Linked DNA regions of Homo sapiens: all the other regions are linked to region 1. The links are contacts of gene promoters, found by promoter capture Hi-C in human tissues and cell types (Jung and others, 2019). All regions are on one chromosome and are shown on one strand. Each heading gives the region's core, a stretch centred on a gene start or on the middle of the fragment in contact. The rest is flanking DNA. Distances are from core to core; before and after follow the strand shown.

What was found. The method cuts DNA at HindIII sites, captures the fragments that hold promoters and counts their contacts. A contact is called where the count stands out against the background at its distance.
Region 2: a contact is called between a fragment that was not itself captured here and the fragment with the promoter of SAFB2 in region 1, in 1 of the 25 tissues and cell types used here (lymphoblastoid cells).
Region 3: a fragment that was not itself captured here is called in contact with the fragment with the promoter of SAFB2 in region 1 in 1 of the 25 tissues and cell types used here (dorsolateral prefrontal cortex).
Region 4: a fragment that was not itself captured here is called in contact with the fragment with the promoter of SAFB2 in region 1 in 3 of the 25 tissues and cell types used here (dorsolateral prefrontal cortex, liver and lymphoblastoid cells).
Region 5: a contact is called between the fragment with the promoter of PTPRS here and the fragment with the promoter of SAFB2 in region 1, in 3 of the 25 tissues and cell types used here (adrenal gland, dorsolateral prefrontal cortex and mesenchymal stem cells).

What each region holds. Positions count from the first base shown.
Region 1 is chr19:5,621,126-5,624,907 of GRCh38, reverse strand. SAFB2 (scaffold attachment factor B2) reads left to right here and starts at 2,132. Exons shown (of 21, transcript NM_014649.3): 1 at 2,132-2,378; 2 at 3,512-3,599. The coding sequence starts at 2,193. SAFB (scaffold attachment factor B) reads right to left here and starts at 1,825. Exons shown (of 21, transcript NM_001201338.2): 1 at 1,514-1,825. The coding sequence starts at 1,702. RefSeq lists enhancers at 663-1,394, 1,395-2,127, 2,048-2,387, 2,861-3,593 and silencers at 1,368-1,417, 2,388-2,507, 3,512-3,732. The HindIII fragment of the contact is 5,746 bases long and covers 1-3,782 here.
Region 2 is chr19:5,132,033-5,135,814 of GRCh38, reverse strand. KDM4B (lysine demethylase 4B) reads right to left here. Exons shown (of 23, transcript NM_015015.3): 14 at 1,754-1,932; 15 at 254-476. Among named protein-coding and RNA genes, the nearest start is that of PTPRS-AS1, 44 kb to the left of the region's middle. The HindIII fragment of the contact is 6,554 bases long and covers 1-3,782 here.
Region 3 is chr19:5,175,361-5,179,142 of GRCh38, reverse strand. It overlaps PTPRS-AS1 (PTPRS antisense RNA 1), which reads right to left and starts at 1,397. Exons shown (of 1, transcript NR_186338.1): 1 at 679-1,397. RefSeq lists enhancers at 2,226-2,275, 2,286-2,375. The HindIII fragment of the contact is 3,308 bases long and covers 1-3,239 here.
Region 4 is chr19:5,309,128-5,312,909 of GRCh38, reverse strand. All of the region lies in intron 1 of PTPRS (protein tyrosine phosphatase receptor type S), which reads left to right. Among named protein-coding and RNA genes, the nearest start is that of PTPRS, 30 kb to the left of the region's middle. The HindIII fragment of the contact is 5,079 bases long and covers 1-3,782 here.
Region 5 is chr19:5,338,756-5,342,537 of GRCh38, reverse strand. PTPRS (protein tyrosine phosphatase receptor type S) reads left to right here and starts at 1,726. Exons shown (of 38, transcript NM_002850.4): 1 at 1,726-1,874. RefSeq lists a silencer at 1,519-1,798 and an enhancer at 3,665-3,782. The HindIII fragment of the contact is 6,208 bases long and covers 1-3,782 here.

The DNA.
Region 1 (3,782 bases), core at 883-3,382:
GGCGGGGCACCACACCTGACCAGCCGCCAATCTCCACTCTCTGCATTTTCTCTGGGTAAATATGTAGATCAGTGGGCTTCCTGCCTTATCTGAGTAAAGAGAATCCATAGTGAAAAGAAACACAAGCTTGAGCTTTTAAAAGGCCCATGTGACTCTGGCCGAGACAACTATCCACCCTTGAGCCCAGGGTTTCTCATCAGGAAAAAAAAAAAAAAAAAAATCCCTACTTCTTCTCATCACCAATTAATAATAAAGCCCTGTGATCTCCGTAGTTCCGGAGTCAGGATGGTGGGATGTGTCAACAGCCCCACTGCCTGCAGGGGCTGGGGGGTGGGCGGCCAGGCGGAGCAACTACAGGGGAGAGGTCCCAGAGTAGCCAGGTGGAAAAAAGGCAGAGAAAAAAAGCTACAGGAATAAGGAAACCGCAGGTGGCTAACCTTTACTTGCCTCTCTGCTTTTCCTAGGGATCCCTTTGAATCCCCCAAGGGAGGCGTTAGAGCCCCCGATCTGCAAATGAGGACTCGTGGTGGCACAGAGAGGAAAAGCGAATCGTGATGGCAACCACACACCGAGTGTTTACATGCGCCAGGCAGCACGCCAAGCCTGCTCCACGCAAACTTATTTAATCCCCAAATCAAAGTCCTATTGCTTTTTTGCTTCTTACAGGAGAAAAAAAAAAAAAAAGAATAGAAAAGAGGACTCAGAAGGGGTTCAAGGTCTCCTATGCCCAAGATCAGGCCACCGAGAGCTGGCAGGGTCCCCAAGTCCAGAGAGACTGACGGAGCTGGGGGAGCCCAGGCTCTGCCCGCCTCCCGGGCAGTTCTGAGGCTGGTTTTAAAGTCCACCCGGGGTCTCCCCTCATTTCACATTTCTGATCACTACCGTCAACACCACTTTTCCTTCCTGCCACGTTACTTCACCGAGCGAGTACCGGCAAACCGTGAAAACTGGATTGTGGTGGGTTTTTTTCTATTTTTCCCTTTGAGTATGTCCTACGGGTGTTTCCTTTGTAAATCAGCCCCGATTCAGGCTGGTCGGTCCCCTGTGGGTCACAAAGCATCTTCCCTGGGGAAACCAAGCAGCCGAATCAGGAATCCCAGGGCCTGGGTTCAAATCCCGACGCTGCCCGTCCTCGGCCGTGTGACCTTGGCCGAGTCCCTTCCCCTCGCCTGGGAAGTGAGGGTTTCAGGGTCTCCCCTCCAGGTACGGAGGAGGGGACGAGACGAGGGGAGAACCCTCCTCTCAGTGGACGATGTCACCCGTCACCGTTTCTCCTGCACGCGTGCCGTTTTTGTGGTTCTCCTGGCCCCATTGCGGCGTTAGGATTTGAACCCAGGCCCAGCCGGCCAAGGAACTCTCTCCGGGGCCTCGGAGGAGCCGGGGGACGCGAGAGCGCCAGGTCCGGCGAGGCCGCGAACGCGGCCGGGGGCGGACGCCAGGGCCCGCGAGCCACCGTCGCGGCCAAGAGGACCCCAGACCCACCCTGTGCCCGCCCTCGGGGCCCCAAATCCACCTTCTTCAGCCGCTCCATCAAAACGCTCTTGTTGCCGCTCGAGTCCACATTCCGTTTCCTCAGCTCCGCCCGCAGATCGATCACTCGCAGGTCGCTGAGGCGCCGCGTCCCGGTCTCTGACGAGGCGGAGCTCAGAGCCGCCGCGCCCGCCGCTCCAGAATCACCTAGGCCTGACAGAGTCTCCGCCATTCCAGGGACCCTGGCTCCGCCGCCCACTTTCCACAGAACCGGGCCGGTTTTATCAGGCTCCTAGCACAAAATGGCGCCGCCTGCGAGGGAACCGCTCCAGTCGCCCCAGCGCGCCTCGCTTCTGCGCAGGCGCACCAAGCGTAGGTTCTAGTATCCCGGTTGCAACTGCACATGCGCAGTGAGAACAACGCGGGGATGTGCGCAGACGCGTTGCGTCTCGTCAGCCTCCCGCCGGGAACTGCCGGGACGCATGCGAGCTGCAGATTCAGCGCTTGCGCGTTGTGCCGGGGAACCCGCGGTTGGTGGACGCGCGAGCGTCCTTGCTGCTAAGTACGCTAGTGGGGGCGGTGCGCGTGCGCGTGCGCGGCCGCAAAGCGGGGCGGGAGGAAACGAGTGCGTTTTCCTCTTAGGCGGCGCCATTTTGTGTTCAGAGCCGCTATAGCTGCCGGCGGTGTGCGACTGAGTCGGTGGCGAAGACGGGAACGCGACGATGGCGGAGACTCTGCCCGGGTCGGGCGACTCGGGCCCTGGCACGGCTTCTCTCGGCCCGGGCGTTGCGGAGACTGGGACGAGGCGGCTCAGCGAGCTGCGGGTGATCGATCTGCGGGCGGAGCTGAAGAAGCGGAACCTGGACACGGGCGGCAACAAGAGCGTCCTGATGGAGCGGCTCAAGAAGGTGAGGCGGCGCGGGGCTCGGGGGTGGCGCAGGAGGCCCGGGCACGCCCCCGCCTGCACCTGTCACCGCGGCTCCCGGACCCGGGGCGCCCTGGGTTCGCCCCGCGTCTTGGCCGACCCCGGTTCGAGGTGTCGGGCACCCAGGGGGCCGGCTGTGTGACCTTGGCCCGTCACCGCTCCTCTCTGTGCCTCCCTTCCTATCCTCTTTCCACCTTTTCTCCTCAAGCGCGCTCAGCGTGCGGTCTTCTCCGCTACCAGGGTGGCCCCGGGACCCCTCCTGGGGCTCCCGATCGAGCCTTGGCTCTGTGACCTTGGGCAGGTGCCTTTCTCTCTGTGCCTCAGTTTCCTCCTCCGGAGAATGGGTGTCTGGCGGACTCCAGAGCATTTACAGGAAAGGGGGCGGTGCTTGTTCTTGCCCCAGGGCTTTGGCCTTTACGAAGCTGTCCACCCGGGTCCCCCAGATCTTCTCGTGGCCGGCCCCTTGTTGTCATTTTGGGTCTGCCTGAGACATCACCTTCCTGAGCGCCCTTCCTAATGCGCTGCCCCACCTCCTTGCCAGCTCATCCTGCGTTTGTGTCGCACCTCGCTGAAAGCAGGGGCTAAATGCAAAATATTAAGGGGTTGGGAATTGTCTGTTTCCGCAACTGGAACAAACAACTTGAGCATAGGGAGGGAGCTTGTGGGTACCCAGTCCTGGACCCGGCAGGTGGCAGGCACTGAGGGACCTGTTGAATCTCCCCAGGCTGGCTGCTGTTCCTCCTCACCAGCGGTGGCCAGCCCTTCACCGAGGCCGGGCCAAGTGCAGCCTCTCTGTTCTAATTTGTCCCATCATATAACTTTAAAGTCGAAGGTTTGGCATTGTCGAGTTGAGTTGCCATTTTGGAACTGGTCCTTGACCCCAATTCTGGAGCTCCTGCTCACAGCCTCCCTCTCCTTTGTCATTTGGACCCAGAGAGACCCAAGTTGTGCGGGGTTCCTCCTCCGCCTTTTGGGCTTGCGGCCCAGATAGCTGACCCGGAGTTGCTCTTTGCAAGGACGGGTTTGCCTTTGTTTCATGGGAGGTTGTTACTTGTAAGGAACAGTGTGTGCCCTGCAGCTCTTAATGATGTTGTAAAACTCATCTCTCCCTAATAGGCGGTTAAAGAAGAGGGGCAAGATCCTGATGAAATTGGCATCGAGTTAGAAGCCACCAGCAAGAAGTCAGCCAAGAGATGTGTTAAAGGTATTGTACATATGCTGCTTGGGGCTTGAGTGTTCAGAGAATTTAGAGAAATGGTGTGTAGTGTGCTCTTCCCGCCTTCTAGGCTGGGAGAATTTCTCTGGTACTCGGTGTCCCTCCACTAAGAGTTAGCTTTGCTCGTCACCACCTAACAGGTAGCTCTGTCAAGGGCACAGGGAGGAGGAA
Region 2 (3,782 bases), core at 772-3,271, 490 kb after region 1:
CATGCGGTCATCCAGCCCTTCCATGGCCACAGCCTTTCCCCCTGCTCTAGATGGTGGGACCACAACGGGAAGGATGAGAAAGTCAGAAATTGCAGGAAGTCACCGGGGGAGGCCCCTGCCCTGGCCCTGAAAGTGCAGCCTGGGGAGAGGGGCCGGTGTGGCCCTCCGCAGGGGAGGATGGAGCCCCCACCGGCACCCCCACCAACACCCTGAAGGAGGGCGCAGCTCCTCTGGGCCCCACAGTGGCACTCACTGGCATGGACCTGCAGGCAGCACTTGCCGCAGGCGATCAGGGGGCTGGTCCCGTCGTCGCCGATGTAGGAGTTGGCAGGCAGCGGCTCCGTGTTCTCACCGCCAGAGGTGAAGCACATCTCAGGGATGAGCGGTCGGGTCTTCTGACGGCTTTTGGAGGGTAATGTGGCCGGGCAGCCCTCTCCGAGGGAGGCTATGGGTGCCTCCTTCTCAGTCTGTAGGGCCTGTAGGGGAGAGGCGACCTTCAGGGGACAGAGCCATGTGTGGGGCAGGCGGGCGGGCGGCGCGGACCTCTCTCAGGGCACCTGCCCCAGGCTTCGACACCCCCTGGCTCTGGAGGGGGAGGTCGGGGAGATGGCCAGAGCCACCTCGGCCCCTCTTCTCACTCCTCCAGAAAGTCAGGATCCCCAAACACTGTCTGACCCTGTCCCCAACCCGCCGAAGACCTTCCCATGAGGGTTGCATCCAGACACAGAGCTCAGGCTGGCCTGTGTGGCCCCTGGTGCTGGGTGGCCCCTGGCGCTGGGGTATGCTGGGGGTGGTGTGTGATGAACGAGTCTCCACACTCTGCCTGGCAAGGGGAATTAGGAAGACGCATGTCTGAAGTGGCATTCCAGGCCCTGTGGCTCCCAGCAGCCTCTCTGGCCTCACAAAGGACAGCAAGTGCCTGGAGACGGTGTCGGCTGTCAGGTCTTGTTTGTCTCAGGAACCAGAGCACTAAATCCAGCTCCCAGCAGCAGAGCCCCAAGACAGGCTCACCACCCTCGGCACAGCACTCTCCCTGGCTCTGTCCACCCAGACCCGGCCGGCGCACAGGCCTGGGGGGTGACGTCCCCAACCCAGGGCAGCTCTGCTGATGCCTGGACATGCTTGGCATGGGGCTAGGAGCTGGGAGTGCAAAGCATGTGGCCAGGTCCTGTCCTGGGGAGGCTGCATGCCCAGGGGAAGAGAGAAGGGGGGATCTAAGAGATCCGAGGAAAACGGCTGGGCTGGGTGCTGATGCCTGGGATGGCCGTGGGCAGAGGCCAGCTCCCCATCTGGGTGCAGAGGACAGGCGAGGCCAGCATGGAAAGAGCACCAGAAACAGGACCTTAGCCAGGTGCCCAGCTCAGCTAGACAGGCCAGGGTTTGCGGGAGCCCCGCCCGGCCACCCAGGTGGTGTACCTGGGCCTTCACTGCACTCCCACACCACCCGGCCCATCTCAGCGCCCACCAGACACGGGCGCTCCCTGAGGGCAGTGACCCCGAGCCTCCGCAGCCTCCCTCTGCCCCATCCACCATGGCTCATGTTGCACATGGGCACGTTAGTAAGCTTCATTCCAATAAAACCCAGAGACCAGGCTCTGCCTACGGCTGTCAGGAACAAGCCCTCACAACTCGGGGTGCTGGCCAACACCCTGCCCTGCGTGAGAGAGGGAGGCGTGTGGGGTGCCCGGTCCCTCGCCCTCTCCCACCGCCCCTGCCTGGGGTTCTCTGGGACCCGTGAGGCCCGCCTGCCCACCTGGCAGTAGGGGTAGAAGAGCGTGCAGATGGCGCAGTAGGGCTCCGTGCGCGCAGCCGCTGCGTTGAACTTCCTCTCGGCCTGGAAGCTGGCCGCCCTGTTCTTCCACTGCAGAGACAGCAGCGGCCTCAAGGCGTCCGGGTCACTCACATCTTCCTCCCCGGAGAAAGGGGATGCCTCTAGAAGAACAGAGGGGAGAGGGAGAGAGACACTTGAGCCCCCTAAAAACTCGTCCAAGGAATCACCCCAACTGCCCAGGGGATGGCCCCGGGTCTACAGCCCTGGCTGCCCACAGGGTCCCTGGCCCATAGCTCCCCCTCCACCTGCCTCCTGGCTGCCCCATTCTCCACAATGCCCATCAAGCTGACACTGCAGCGTCCCATCCCATCAACAGGAGGGGGACACGTCTGTCTCGGCTGACTGCCACCTGAGGCCAGAGCCCCCAAACATGGTTCCTCTGAGCCCCTCCCCCAACACCTGGTTCTCCCTGGACATCCAGAGCCGTCCACTCACCCAGGGCCTTCTGGGCCAAGGACTGGCCAAACTCAGTGCCCAGCCCTGCCCCGGCTGCCCTACACCCGTCCTGGGGTCTGAGTCTGAGTGGGGGCGTCGGCAGTGACCAGCCGAGACTCAGAGACACTGTCCTTCCTGTCTTAGGTGGGCACAGACTCACTGAACTCAAGGGAGGTGCCAGAGGAGTGCGACAGGGAGTCAGGAGGGGCCGTGACCAGGGCTAGGAAGCCAAGGCAGCCCGCCCCAGGAAGAGCTGCGTGACGGGGACACTCTCCCGGAAGGCAGGTCTGCTGCTGAGAAGCCGCGGCGGTCTCTCTCCCACCTGTTGCCTGTTCCCATTGAACTCTAATGGCCTCCATTGCCAGCTGCCGCACCCCAATCTCCCCACGTCCCCTCCCTGCATCTCCTGTGGACACAGGGGTGCTGTCCCCAGGAAGTGGGGTGCCCACTCCTGTGGCCCAATCCTCAGCCCAACCTAAAGGGGAGCCTGGGGTCCTGGGATCAGCCCAGCTGTGGCACTGCCCCTGGTTCACCTAGAGGAGGGCAGGGCAGGGCAGGGCAGGCTCCCCGAGGTGGAGGCCCAGGTCTCCCATGGTGGACTCAGGAAGCCCTTAGGCCAAGACTCCTCTGAAAACCCAAACCAGACAGTACCGCCAGCGGAGCCCAGGGAAGGCCCTAAGCGGCCCCGAGGCCCTGGGGATGAGAACAGAGCCACTGGCTGCGTCTGTCACTCACAACCCCAGAATGCCTGGGGTTCTGGGGCCGTGATGGTCTCACAGGCAAATGCTCCGGTCTCACCAAAGGGTCACAGTGGGGTGTGGGGAGTGGGGGAGTCCACGGAGGCCCCAGAGATGCCTTCTGGAAGGATACCTGGGTAGAAGGCAAGACCCCTTCCCAAGCCAGCCCGCGGGGGCCCCTGGTCATTCCTCTGTCCCCGTGCCGATTCCTCCACTCCTGGGAGCTCCCGCCCTGTGATCCCACGCGCTTCTAGAACCCTCCTCTCCCCACCCCTCCAATTGCATGCAGGATGAAAGACGCCATCCAGACCATTTTCAGATTCTACATGCATCCCCAATGAAAGGCCGAAGCAGAAGTTGAAAAACTGGCTTAGCAGGACTTCTGCACACAAGACAGCAGCTCTCGGCTGAGGGTTAAATCGAAGATTCCATCTCCTCCCCTCCCACTCAAAGCTTCGCGGGAGCCTTTTGTTCCAACCTCTCCAAGTCCTGGAGAGGCCTGTGCTCAGCCCTGGGAGGAATCTTCCATGGGGAGGTACAAGCTCCCCAGCCCTGAACCGCCCATCATGGGCAGCCCAGCCAGCAGAGCAGAGCCGAGCATCTCTAACAGCAGCTGCCTCCCCGCACGACCACCTGCCCCAGTGACAGCCTGTCGCTACGGCAGAGCCACAGAAAGGCCTGGGTTCAGGGGAGGAGACCCAGGAAGTGGGGGAAGGAAGCCGCAGGGGAGCCAGGCCCCCCCTCCAGCAGCAGCAGAGCGCGGAGCAGGGCTGATGAGA
Region 3 (3,782 bases), core at 336-2,835, 450 kb after region 1:
ACTCTGTTGCTCAGGCTGGAGTGCAGTGGCATAATCGCAGCCGTCCTTAGCACCTAGGGCACCCAGAGAGATGGGCATCAGGAGGCATGGAAGGCTTCCTGGAGGAAGCAACATCCAAGCTGAATGCAGGAGGAGAGGGCGGGGTTGCCTGTAGTCCCAGCTGCTCAGGAAGCTGAGGTGGGAGGATTGCTTGAGCCTTGGAGGTCCAGGCCACAGTGAGCTATGATCATGTCACTGCACTCCAGCCTGGGCAACAGAGCAAGACTCCATCTCAAAGAAAATTGCATAAATGAAAGAATGAGCAAAAGCTTGAATATTATTAAAAATTGTTTTAACGTAGAAACATTTTTAGTCTATGGGCCATACAAAATCAGGCAGTGGACTGAATGTGGCCCAGGGACCAGAGTTTGCTAACCCTTGTTCTATTTTGTTAAAGTGTTGGTAACTGAAGTGTTTATATGTACAAAAGCCATCGAATTGTATGCTTGCAGTTAGAGCACTGTCTTGTTTTGTTTTGTTTTTTGAGGTGGAGTCTAGCTCTGTCGTCCAGGCCGGAGTGCAGTGGTGCCATCTTATCTCAGCTCACTGCCACCTCCGCCTCCCAGGTTCAAGAGATTCTTAAGCTTCATCCTCCTGAGTAGCTGGGATTACAGGCACCTGCCACCATGCCTGCCTAAGTTTTGTATTTTTAGTAGAGAGGGGGTTTTGCCACGTTGGCCAGGTTGGTCTGGAATTCTTGACCTCAGGGGATCCACCTGCCTTGGCCTCCCAAAATGCTGGGATTACAGGCATGAGCCACAGAGCCTAGCCTGATTTTTTTTTTTAATGACGGTGATGATGATGACGACGATAGATCTGTGATATAAGCTCGGCCCGTCTGTTCCCTGGAACAGCATCTGAGCATTCTGACTCACAAATTGCATGGATGCTTGGGCTACCATTGCGGGAGAATCAGCAGGAAAGGAGAGGACAAGCAGCCCCCCATAGCCGCACCTTGAAGCCTCACCACCACCACCCCCGCCCCGGCAAGAACAGTGGACACAGGAGACCTTTCCACAGAAATGCCCAGACACACAGCAAACGCTTTTTAATCCAACAGCCGCAATGGCAGAGGAGATATTAGTTTCCTGTAAGATTCGACTCAATTAATTAGTTCCCAAATATCAGCCTATCCAGGCAAGCAAAGGAAAACAGAGATAAGTCCCAGCCCAGCCTTGCTTCATCTTTTAAAGGCAATTAACTCTTAGTTATTAGCTTTTAATTAGGGAGTAATAATGGCCTCGTTAATACGTTTTATTATACTTGTCACCAGGCAGCTGTTCCAAACAGAACCTATTATCAGATGGTGATGGCCCCGGTGTCAACCGCACTGATGCCGAGGCCGGGGCTCAGAGGCTGCCCTGTGCTCCTTCTCCAGGGGGGCAGGGCTGGACCATGAGCCCCACCTGATGCTATCATTGTGACCCTTTTCAAGTGATCCCCAGGCCCTCTAGGGTCTCTTGATTTCCACTCCTGTCCCCTGTGATAAACCGAAGGTCCTGTCTGGGTCATCCTGCTGCCCTACCATGGCTGTTTCAGACACACCAGCTGCCACTAATGACCCTGACGGCTTCCCTCACCTATGCTGGGTCTGGTCTCCCCTCTGTCCTATGATTAGGTACAAGGACAGCCACTGCCACTCTTTTCTTTTCTTTTCTTTCTCTCTCTTTCTTTCTCTTTCTCTTTTTCTTTCTTTCTTTCTTCTTTCCTTTCTTTCTTTCTTTCTTTCCTCTCTATTTCTTTTCTTTTTTGTTTTCAGGGTCTCATTTTGTCACCCAGGCTGGAGTGCCATGGTGCAATCTCAGCTCACTGCAGCCTCGACTTCCTGAGCTAAAGAGATCCTCTCGCCTCAGCTGCACAAGTAGCTGAGACTACAGACCCATGCCATACACCCAGCTAATTTTTTTTTCTTTTTTTTGAGACAGAGTCTGGCTCTTGTTGCCTAGGCTGGAGTGCAGTGGCCTGATCTCAGCTCACTGCAACCTCTGCCTCCCAGGCTCAAGCAATTCTCCTGCTTCAGCCTCCTGAGTAGCTGGTATTACAGGCATGTGTCACAACGCCTGACTAATTTGTGCACTTTTAGTACAGACGGGGTTTCCCCATGTTGGCCAGGCTGGTCTTGAAATCCTGACCTCGGGTGATCCGCCCGCCTCGGCCTCCCAAAGTGCTGAGCCACCACGCCCGGCTGTTTTTGTTTTGTTTTGTTTTGTTTTGTTCTTGTTTGTTTGTTTTGTATTTTTGGTAGAGATGGGGTTTCATTATGTTGTCCAGGCTGGTCTCAAACTCCTGGACTCAGGCGATCCAGGTGCTGGGATTACAAGCCTCCCAAAGTGCTGGGATTACAAGAGTGAGCCACCACATCTGGCCGATTGCCACTTTCTTTCTTTTTTTGAGACAGAGTCTTGCTCTGTCGCCCAGGCTGGAGGGCAATTGTGCAATCTCAGCTCACTGCAATGTCTGCCTCCCAGGTTCAAGCGATTCTCCTGCCTCAGCCTCCTGAGTAGCTAGGATTACAGGCATGCACCACCACCACCACCACGCCCAGCTAATTTTTTGTATTTTTAGTGGAGATGGGGTTTCATGGTGTTAGCTAGAATGGTCTCGATCTCCTAACCTCGTGATCTGCCTGCCTCAGCCTCCCAAAGTATTGGGATTACAGGCGTGAGCCACCACACCCGGCCCAATTGCCCCTTTCTTTAGCAAAGTTCCCATGCTGGAAATCACCTTACCATAGGTGTCCCTGGTAGGAGAAAGTTCCATGAGACTGAGTGAAATTGGAGGGTAAAATATCACAAGATACCCACAAAGAGCTGTGTGCATGAATGAGTTCACAGTTGCTCCAACTGCAATTGCCAAATGTCCATCAACTGGTAAATGTATAAACACACTGTGGCCCATCAATACAATGGAATACTACACAGCAATGAAAAAGGACTGCACTTTAGAAACATGGCTGTTGTTGGCCGGGCGTGGTGGCTCATGCCGGTAATCCCAGCACTTTGGGAGGCCGAGGCGGGCGGATCACAAGGTCAAGAGATCGGGACGATCCTGGCTAACAAGGTGAAACCCCGTCTCTACCCAAAATACAAAAATTAGCAGGGCGTGGTGGTGGGTGCCTGTAGTCCCAGCTACTTAGGAGGCTGAGGCAGGAGAATGGTGTGAACCCAGGAGGCAGAGCCTGCAGTGAGCCGAGATTGCACCACTGCACTCCAGCCTGGGCAACAGAGTGAGACTCCGTCTCAAAAAAAAAAAAAAAAAAGAAAGAAACATGGCTGTTTTGGGGTGAATCTGAAATGCATTGCACCAAGGGAAAGAAGCCAGACACAAATGGTGACATTCTGCACAATTCCATTTATATGAAGTGCTAAACATGTAATTCTCACTGATAGTTGGAGAAAACAGATCCGTAGTTGCCACTGAGTGTGGAGGGTTGACAAGGGAATATTCTGGAGGGAGTGAAGTGCCCTATATCTTGTTTTGGTTATGCGAGCGTATGCATTTGTCAAACTTATTGAACCATACAACTGAAGATATGTTTATTGACTGATATGTAAATAAGGTCTCAATAAACATTTAAAAAAATATTAGATGGGCCAGGCACGGTGGCTCACGCCAGTAATCCCAGCACTTTGGGAGGCTGAGGTTGGTGGATCACCTGAGATCAGGAGTTTGAGACCAGCCTGGCCAACATGGTGAAACCCCATCTCTACTAAAAATACAAAAATTAGCCAGGCGTGGTGGCA
Region 4 (3,782 bases), core at 908-3,407, 310 kb after region 1:
AGGTTTTGGGGCTCAGCAGCCTGGACTCATGTCCCCCCTCTGCTGCCGCCATGCTGTGTGACCTTGGACAAGTGTCTTGACCTCTCCGATGCTCAGTTGCCTCATCTGTAAAATGGAGACAATTCGAATTCAATGAGATATTATGTGTAAAAGACTTTGAACCATGCCTGGCACGCAGTATGTGACCTATAAATATTAGCAGTTATTGTTACTATTGCTATTATTTTATTTTTATTTTTAATTTTTTTAGAGACAGGGTCTTGCTCTGTCGCCCAGACTGAAGTGCAGTGGTGTGATCATAGCTCACTGCCGCCTCCATCTCCTAGGCTCAAGCAGTCCTCCTGCCTTGGCCTCTCAAGTGGCTGGGACTACAGGCATGCGCCACCACGCCTGGCTAATTTTTGTATTTTTTTGTAGAGGTAAGGTCTCATTATGTTGGCCAGGCTGGTCTCGAACTCCTGGGCTCAAGCAATCCTCCTGCCTCAACCTCCCAAAGCACTAGGGTACAGGTGTGAGCCACCATGCCTGGCCCTGCTGCTATTATTATAGCATTTGCAAATATTGGCATATTGTGCTCACCTTCTCGTCCCACACATCCTATGCCCGCTGTCCCTGCCATGCTCTTTCACTGACAGTACCAGGACGCACACAGCCAGGGATGTCTTTTTCAGGGCTGCGTACTATGCATTCTTTTTCAGGGCTGTGTAGTATGCCATCTACATGCCCAGCCCCTCCTGACGGACATGCCCATTTGTCTCTCTCTTTTGCTTTCCTATGAGATGTGTTGCAGGGCTCGTTCACACACAGGCCTCACGCACAACCAGGAGATGTCATGTGGGATGCGTATTTCTTTCTTTTTTTTTTTTTTGAGACGGAGTCTCGCTGTGTCTCCCAGGCTGGAATGCAGTGGCGCACGATCTCGGCTCACTGCAAGCTCCGCCTCCCGGGTTCACGCCATTCTCCTGCCTCAGCCTCCCCAGTAGCTGGGACTACAGGTGCCTGCCACCCCGCCCGGCTAATTTTTTGTATTTTTAGTAGAGACGGGGTTTCACCATGTTAGCCAGGATGGTCTCGATCTCCTGACCTCGTGATCCACCCACCTCAGCCTCCCAAAGTGCTGGGATTACAGGCGTGAGCCACCGCACCCGGCCCAAGGGATGCACATTTCAATATTCACTCCCTCTCGCCCAGTTACCCTGCAGAGAGCATCTGCCATCTCCACCCCAGCCGCCAGCCAGGGAGCTCGGGTCTCCCCTGAACAGCTTTGATGAGACAGGAATGTTCTTTTTCTTTCCTTGGCTGCTCCCAAGATACTTATATCCCCACCCCCAGCCTCCACCCAGGGGATGGTTTCAGGTCTAAAATTTTCCTTCAGACCCCAAGGAAAGCTTCTGTGTGTTCAGAAAACAACCGTCGTGTCCTTTCTGGGCCCAGGACCCTGCTGGGGGCCTAGAGCTCCATCACTGGATACTTATTGAGCACCTCCTATATACCAGGCCCTGATCCTCACAGGGTCAGGTGTTGGGAACAGAGTGACGGAGAAGACAGAGGGAAAAACCCTTCCCTCGTGGAATGCATCAGAAGGACAATGAACAAATAGGGGCCGGGCGCAGTGGCTCAGCCTATAATCCCAGCACTTTAGGAGGCCAAGACGGGCAGATCGCCTGAGGTCAGGAGTTCGAGACCAGCCTGGCCAACATGGTGAAATCTCATCTCTACTAAAAATACAAAAGGCTGGGCACAGTGGCTCATGCCTGTAATCCCAGCACTTCGGGAGGCCGAGTCAGGTGGATCACGAGGTCAGGAGATCGAGACCATCCTGGCCAACAGGGTAAAACCCCGTCTCTACTTAAATAAAAAAAATTAGCTGGGCGTGGTGGCATGCACCTATAGTCCCAGCTACTCGGGAGGCTGAGGCAGGGGAATCGCTTGAACCAGGGAGGCAGAGGTTGCAGTGAGATCACGCCACTGCACGCCAGTCTGGAGACAAAGTGAGACTTGGTTTCATAATAATAATAATAAATAAAAATACAAAAATTAGCCGGGTGTGGTGGTACAAGCCTATAGTCCCAGCTACTCAGGAGGCTGAGGTGGGAGGATCACTTGAGCTGAGGAGTTCAAGGCTGCAGTGAGCTGAGATTGCGTCACTGCACTCCAGCCTGGGTGACAGAGTGAGACCCTGCCTCAAAAAACAAAAACAAGAAACACCCAAAAAACAAAAGCCATAAAGCCAATAGATTAAATATGTGTTAAGGATTGACTGTATGCCATGCCTTTAAGAAAAATAAAGTTGGCCAGGCGCAGTGGCTCATGCCTGCAATTTTAGCACTTTGGGAGGCCGAGGTGGGCAGATCACTTGAGGTCAGGAGTTTGAAACCAGCCTGGCCAACATGGTGAAACCCTGTCTCTACTAAAAATACAAAAATTAGCTGGGTATGGTGGTGGGCGCCTGTAATCCCAGCTACTCGGTAGGCTGAGGCAGGAGAATTGCTTGAACGGGGGAAGCGGAGGTTGTAGTGAGCCGAGATTGCGCCACTGCAGTCCAGCCTGGGTGATAGAGTAAGACTCCATCTCAAAAAAAAAAAAAAAAAGAAAAGAAAAAAGCTAGAGGAATTGGTTGGTGGCAGGGAGGGGCTGTTTTAGCTACAGAATCAAGACAGGCCTCACAGAAGAGGTGACATTTCAGTAAGACCAACAGGAATAAGAGAATGATGTTTGCTGACATCTGAGGGGAGGGTGTTCCAGGCAGAGGGCACAGCCCGTGCAAAGGCCCTGAGGCAGGACCGCACCTGGCATGTTGGAGGAACAGCGAGGAGGCCTGTGTGGCTGGAGCAGAGTGAGGAGGGGGAGGAGGGGAGGGGAGAGCAGGGAGAGGACAGAGCAGGTTGTGCAGGCCCTTGTGGGGCACCAGGAGGACTTGGGCGTTTACTCTGAGGGAGGTGGGAGCCAGGGAGGGCTATGGGCAAAGGAGGAACCAGCCCTGACCGACGTGTTCACAGGCGACCCCTGGCTGTTGCAGAAAGGACAGACTGTGGGGGATGAGTGCAGACGCTGGGGGACCAGAGCAGAGGGGACGGCACAGATCCAGGCCAGGGATGATGGGGGTGGACCAGGCAGGGGCAGAGGAGGGGTTGTATTCTAGAAGGATTTTGCAGAAGGGTTGGCTGGCTTCTCCAAGTGGTTGGCTGCAGGGTAGGGTTGAGATGAGTCAAGAACGACTCCCAGGCCTCTGTCCTGAACATCGGTAAAGACGGAGAAGATGAGCTGAGGTGGCGAAGATGGTGAGAGAGGCAGGCATGGAAACGCCCCCATTAGCAGGACGCCTGCGGAGGTTCCCAGGAAGTGGTGGGCTGGTTCTCCCTGGAGACATGGAGTTGGCAGCTCCTGACTTAGCCCATAGCGGGTTTTCAGGTGCTACAAGCAAGCCATTGGCTCTGGACAAGGCACATCCTATCCTCAGCCTCAGTTTCCCCATCTGAGATAAATAACTGGCACAACAAAACGAGTTAATATGCGTCAAGCACTTAGAGAGTGGCCTGCATAGACAGGGCCCTGGGAGGGGCTGTGGGCTACACACTTGGGGCTGGATGGGGCTAGAGGTTAGGACAGGAAGGGAGGTCTAATTTGCAGACCAGGGGGCTGAAGCCCAGAGAGGTTAAGGCACTTGCCCAAGGCCACACAGCACGTGGCACAGGCTCAACCCCACTAAGGGGCCTGCACACTCTGCTCACCACCAGAGCCAGCCAACCCCCCCTTCCTCCCTTCTCTCTCCACCCCCGGAG
Region 5 (3,782 bases), core at 477-2,976, 280 kb after region 1:
GGTTCACTGCAACCTCCGCCTCCCGGGTTCAAGAGTTTCTCCTGCCTCAGCCTCCCAACTAGCTGAGACTACAGGCACCTGCCACCACGCTCGGCTAATTTTTGTATTTTTAGTAGAGATGGGGTTTCGCCATGTCGGCCAGCCTGGTCTCGAACTCCTGACAAGTGATCTGCCCACCTTGGCTTCCCAAAGTGCTGGGATTACAGGCATGAGTCACCGGGCCCGGCCTCTTTTCTCTTATTATTCCATCTTCAGGCACCAATGGCAGCCAGGCTGCCACATTATAGCAATTCATCATCACACCCTCCTTAGGAGCAGGGGCTACCTTGCCCCATTTTACAGATGAGAGCTGAGATCCAGAGGCAAATCCATTCTACAGATGGGGAAAGTGAGGCTCCGGGCCTCACACAGCAAATCAGTGTTTTAGCTGGGTTCCAACTGTGGCTCGTCCTGACTCCAGGGAAGCAGGGGATGGTAATTAGGTGAGACCTGTGTAAAGTGCTTACTCTATAAGAAGTGCTCCATCATCCATTCATTCATGTGTTCAACCTACAATAGGGATCTCTGGAGCCACACTGTAGTGTAACTAGAATAAAAACGGGATAATGGGACCAGGCGCGGTGGCTCACGCCTGTAATCCCAGCACTTTGGGAGGCCGAGGTGGACGGATCACTGAGGTCAGGAGTTCAAGACCAGCCTGGCCAACATGGTGAAACACTGTCTCTAACAAAAATACAAAAATTAGCCAGGCGTGGTGACAGCACGCCTGTAATTCCAGCTACTCCGGAGGCTGAGACAGGAGAATAGCTTGAATCCAGGAGGCGGAGGTTACAGTGAGCCGCGATCACGCCACTGCATTCCAGCCTGGGCGACAGAGTGAGACTCCGACTCAAAACCAAACAAACAACAACAACAACAACAAACCGGGATAATGGGATAGAGTGGAGTGGGGCGTGGCTGGTAGCTGTTGTCAGGGAGGGCTTCTCCCAGGCGCTGCTTATTTGAGCAGAAATTGGAAAGATGAGAAGGGGAAGTTCTTGGATGCTCAAGTTAGAGGAACTGTAAGAAGCTGGCTGAGGCGGGAGGATCACCCGAGCCCAACTACTCAGGAGGCTGAGGCGGGAGGATCACCTGAGCCCAGGAGTTTGAAGCTGCAGTGAGCTATGATCATACCACTGTACTGAGGCCCAGGTGGCAGACCCCATCTCTGAAAAAGCAAAGAAGGAGCAGCTGGTTTTTCTGGATCATTGACATGGTGGGGGGGAGGGGACAGGGTAGTGGGCGCTAATGTGAAACGGCGAGCTGCAGAGAGGAGGCGGGATTTTATTCCAAGGGTACTGGGGAGCCGTGGCACAGTTTAGGGCAGCGCACAGAAAGTGCCATGCCCTTTGCACCCAGGACGCTGGGGCTCCCGCACGGACAGTAGCCCCAGGGGCCCTTCCCGCCGCCGCCGCAGCCGCCACCACCACCACCACCCCAGCCGCCCACGTGTCCCGCGAAGCCCCGCGCCCCACGTGCTCCCGCGGCCCTTTAAACACCCCGGAGCCACGTGACCGCGCTGCGCCGTCCCATTGGCCGGGGGGCGTGGCGGCCGCGCGGCTGCGCAGTGACGCGCACGGGCCGGCCCTGCCCCCGACCCGGCGGCGGCGGCGGCGGCGCTGGCGGAAGGGATGACGTCACCGGCTGGGGGGGCGCGCGAGCGGGAGCTAGGGGAGCGCGAGCCGCAGTGAGTGTCCTCGCGCCGCCCGCCCGGCAGCCCGGCCGGCGCGCGCACGCCGCGAGCCGCTGGCGCTCGGGCTCCGCTCGGATCCCATGCAACAGCCACGATGTGAAGCGGGGCAGAGCCGGGGGAGCCCAGCCCAGCCAGCCTCCAGGTAAAGCCAAAAAAAAAAATAAAATCATGGATTAGAGGAAAAAAAAATGCAGGCGCTCCAAGGGGGGTCTCGGAGGCAGCCGAGTGGGCAGCGCGCCGGCTTTGTGCCGGGGAAGCCTGCACGGCCATTGTGCTCGGAGGATGCTCGGCTGCAGCCAGTTGCACGCCCAGCCGCTGCGCCCCGGTAGCTGCGCCCGGACAATGCCCCGAGGGACAGGGCCGGGGCCGCGCTGGGGGCGCTCGGCAGGGGGTGCTGGGGGGGCTTCGTCCGCGGCGTGGGAGGGGGCTGGGCTGGAAGCGCCCAGAGCGCGGCATTGGAAGCTGCCCAGCGCCGCCGGCTGCACCACCCCGGGCTGCGGGCGGGGCAGAGGCGCGGAGGGGGGCGCGCGTGTGTGCGGAGCCGGTGCCGGCCCCGGCGGCGCCCGGCCCGGGTCCCCGGGCGGGTCCTGGAGGCAGGGGGCGCTGTGCCGGGGGATGGGGGGCATGCGGGCGCCCCGGAGCGGAGAGGAGCCGGGACGGGTGGCTCCAGGCGGGGTGGCTCCAGGGCTGCTGCGCCCGCCGCCTTCCCTCTCCGGGTCTCCCTCCCCTGGAGACCCCCTAGTCTACGCCGTCTCCCCTGGAACACTCCGGGCCCTGTCGTTGCCTTATGGGAGGTCGCCCCTCCGGCACTCGGGCATTGCCCCACCCTTCTGCGGCCTCGGCGCCCCCTTCCAGCCTCCCCACCCAGGGGCGAGCCTCAGCCCCCAGCCCCAGGGGCTCTGGCAGGCAGACGCGCACGCCCAGCACCCCAGTCTCCCCTCCGCGCTGGGGGCCCCGTGGGGATCCCGAGAGTGGGGAAGCCGCCCCTGGAACCGCCAGCCCCGCGGGTTCCGCACGCCCCGGGAGCCCCCGGGGGCTGCGGGGGGAGGGGAGGTGACGTCATACCGGGGGCGGGGCCGTCGGCACTGGGTTAAAGGGGGCGCGGGGCGTGCCCTGAGGGGAGCCCCCCAGGTTAGAGTGCCCGCGCCGTGGGTGCGAGGGTTCGGCCAGGTTGCGGCCAAGTTCACCTCTCTTTATGGGAATCTCTCCTAAAATTAAGATCCTCCCCTTCGGACCTCCCCCTACAAATCCTGGACATTTCCCACCAATTCCCCCCCTTCCCAAATTGGGGAACTCCCCTTCGGCCGCTTTCTCTCCAGAATCCTCAAATCAGGGAACCTTTCCCACAAACTGGGAATCTTTTTTTCAGCCACACCCCCCGCCCCAAATCTGGGACCTCCTTCTTCGGTTGACCCTCTTTCCCCAGTCTCAAATCGTCTTCTCGTCTCCCTAAATATGCAGCTTCCAAGAACGCCCCTTCCTCTGCAACCCTTCCTCAAATCCAGCCACCTCCTGGGACCTCATTCCCCCAAATTAACAAACCTCCCAGAGCCTCATTGGGGGTGCCTTGCCTCCCCCTTCTGGGCTCAGCTGGGATTCCCCTGTCCCCCCCCGTCACAATCTAGGGGAGCCCCCTTCTGAGCATGGGGTCCTCCTGCCTCTGGCCGAGACCCTAAAAACACATCCCGGCAGCCGCGGCTAGTGAAGCGGGTGTCCGAGGTGTCGGAGTCCCGGCTGAGCAGCAGGGATGATACCTAGAAGCCGGAGGAGGCAGGAAGAGACCCCTAGGGTCCCAAGGACAGGGACCCACACGCTCCGGGCTCCCGTCCGCCACCACCCGGACTTTGGCTGCTGGGATTCTGGCCTCCTCTGGGTGGCCCCCTATCGCTGCTGTCCTTGGGGTGCAGAGGGTGACGGCGCCTCTTTGTCTGGGGCGCCCTTCTTCCCTCTTTCTGCCGCCTTTCGCCCGGGAGAAGGAAGCCATCCCGCTCCTCTGCTCCTGCGATACCAGCGGCAGCTGCTGGAGCGTTTATTAATGGCCCAGGGACTT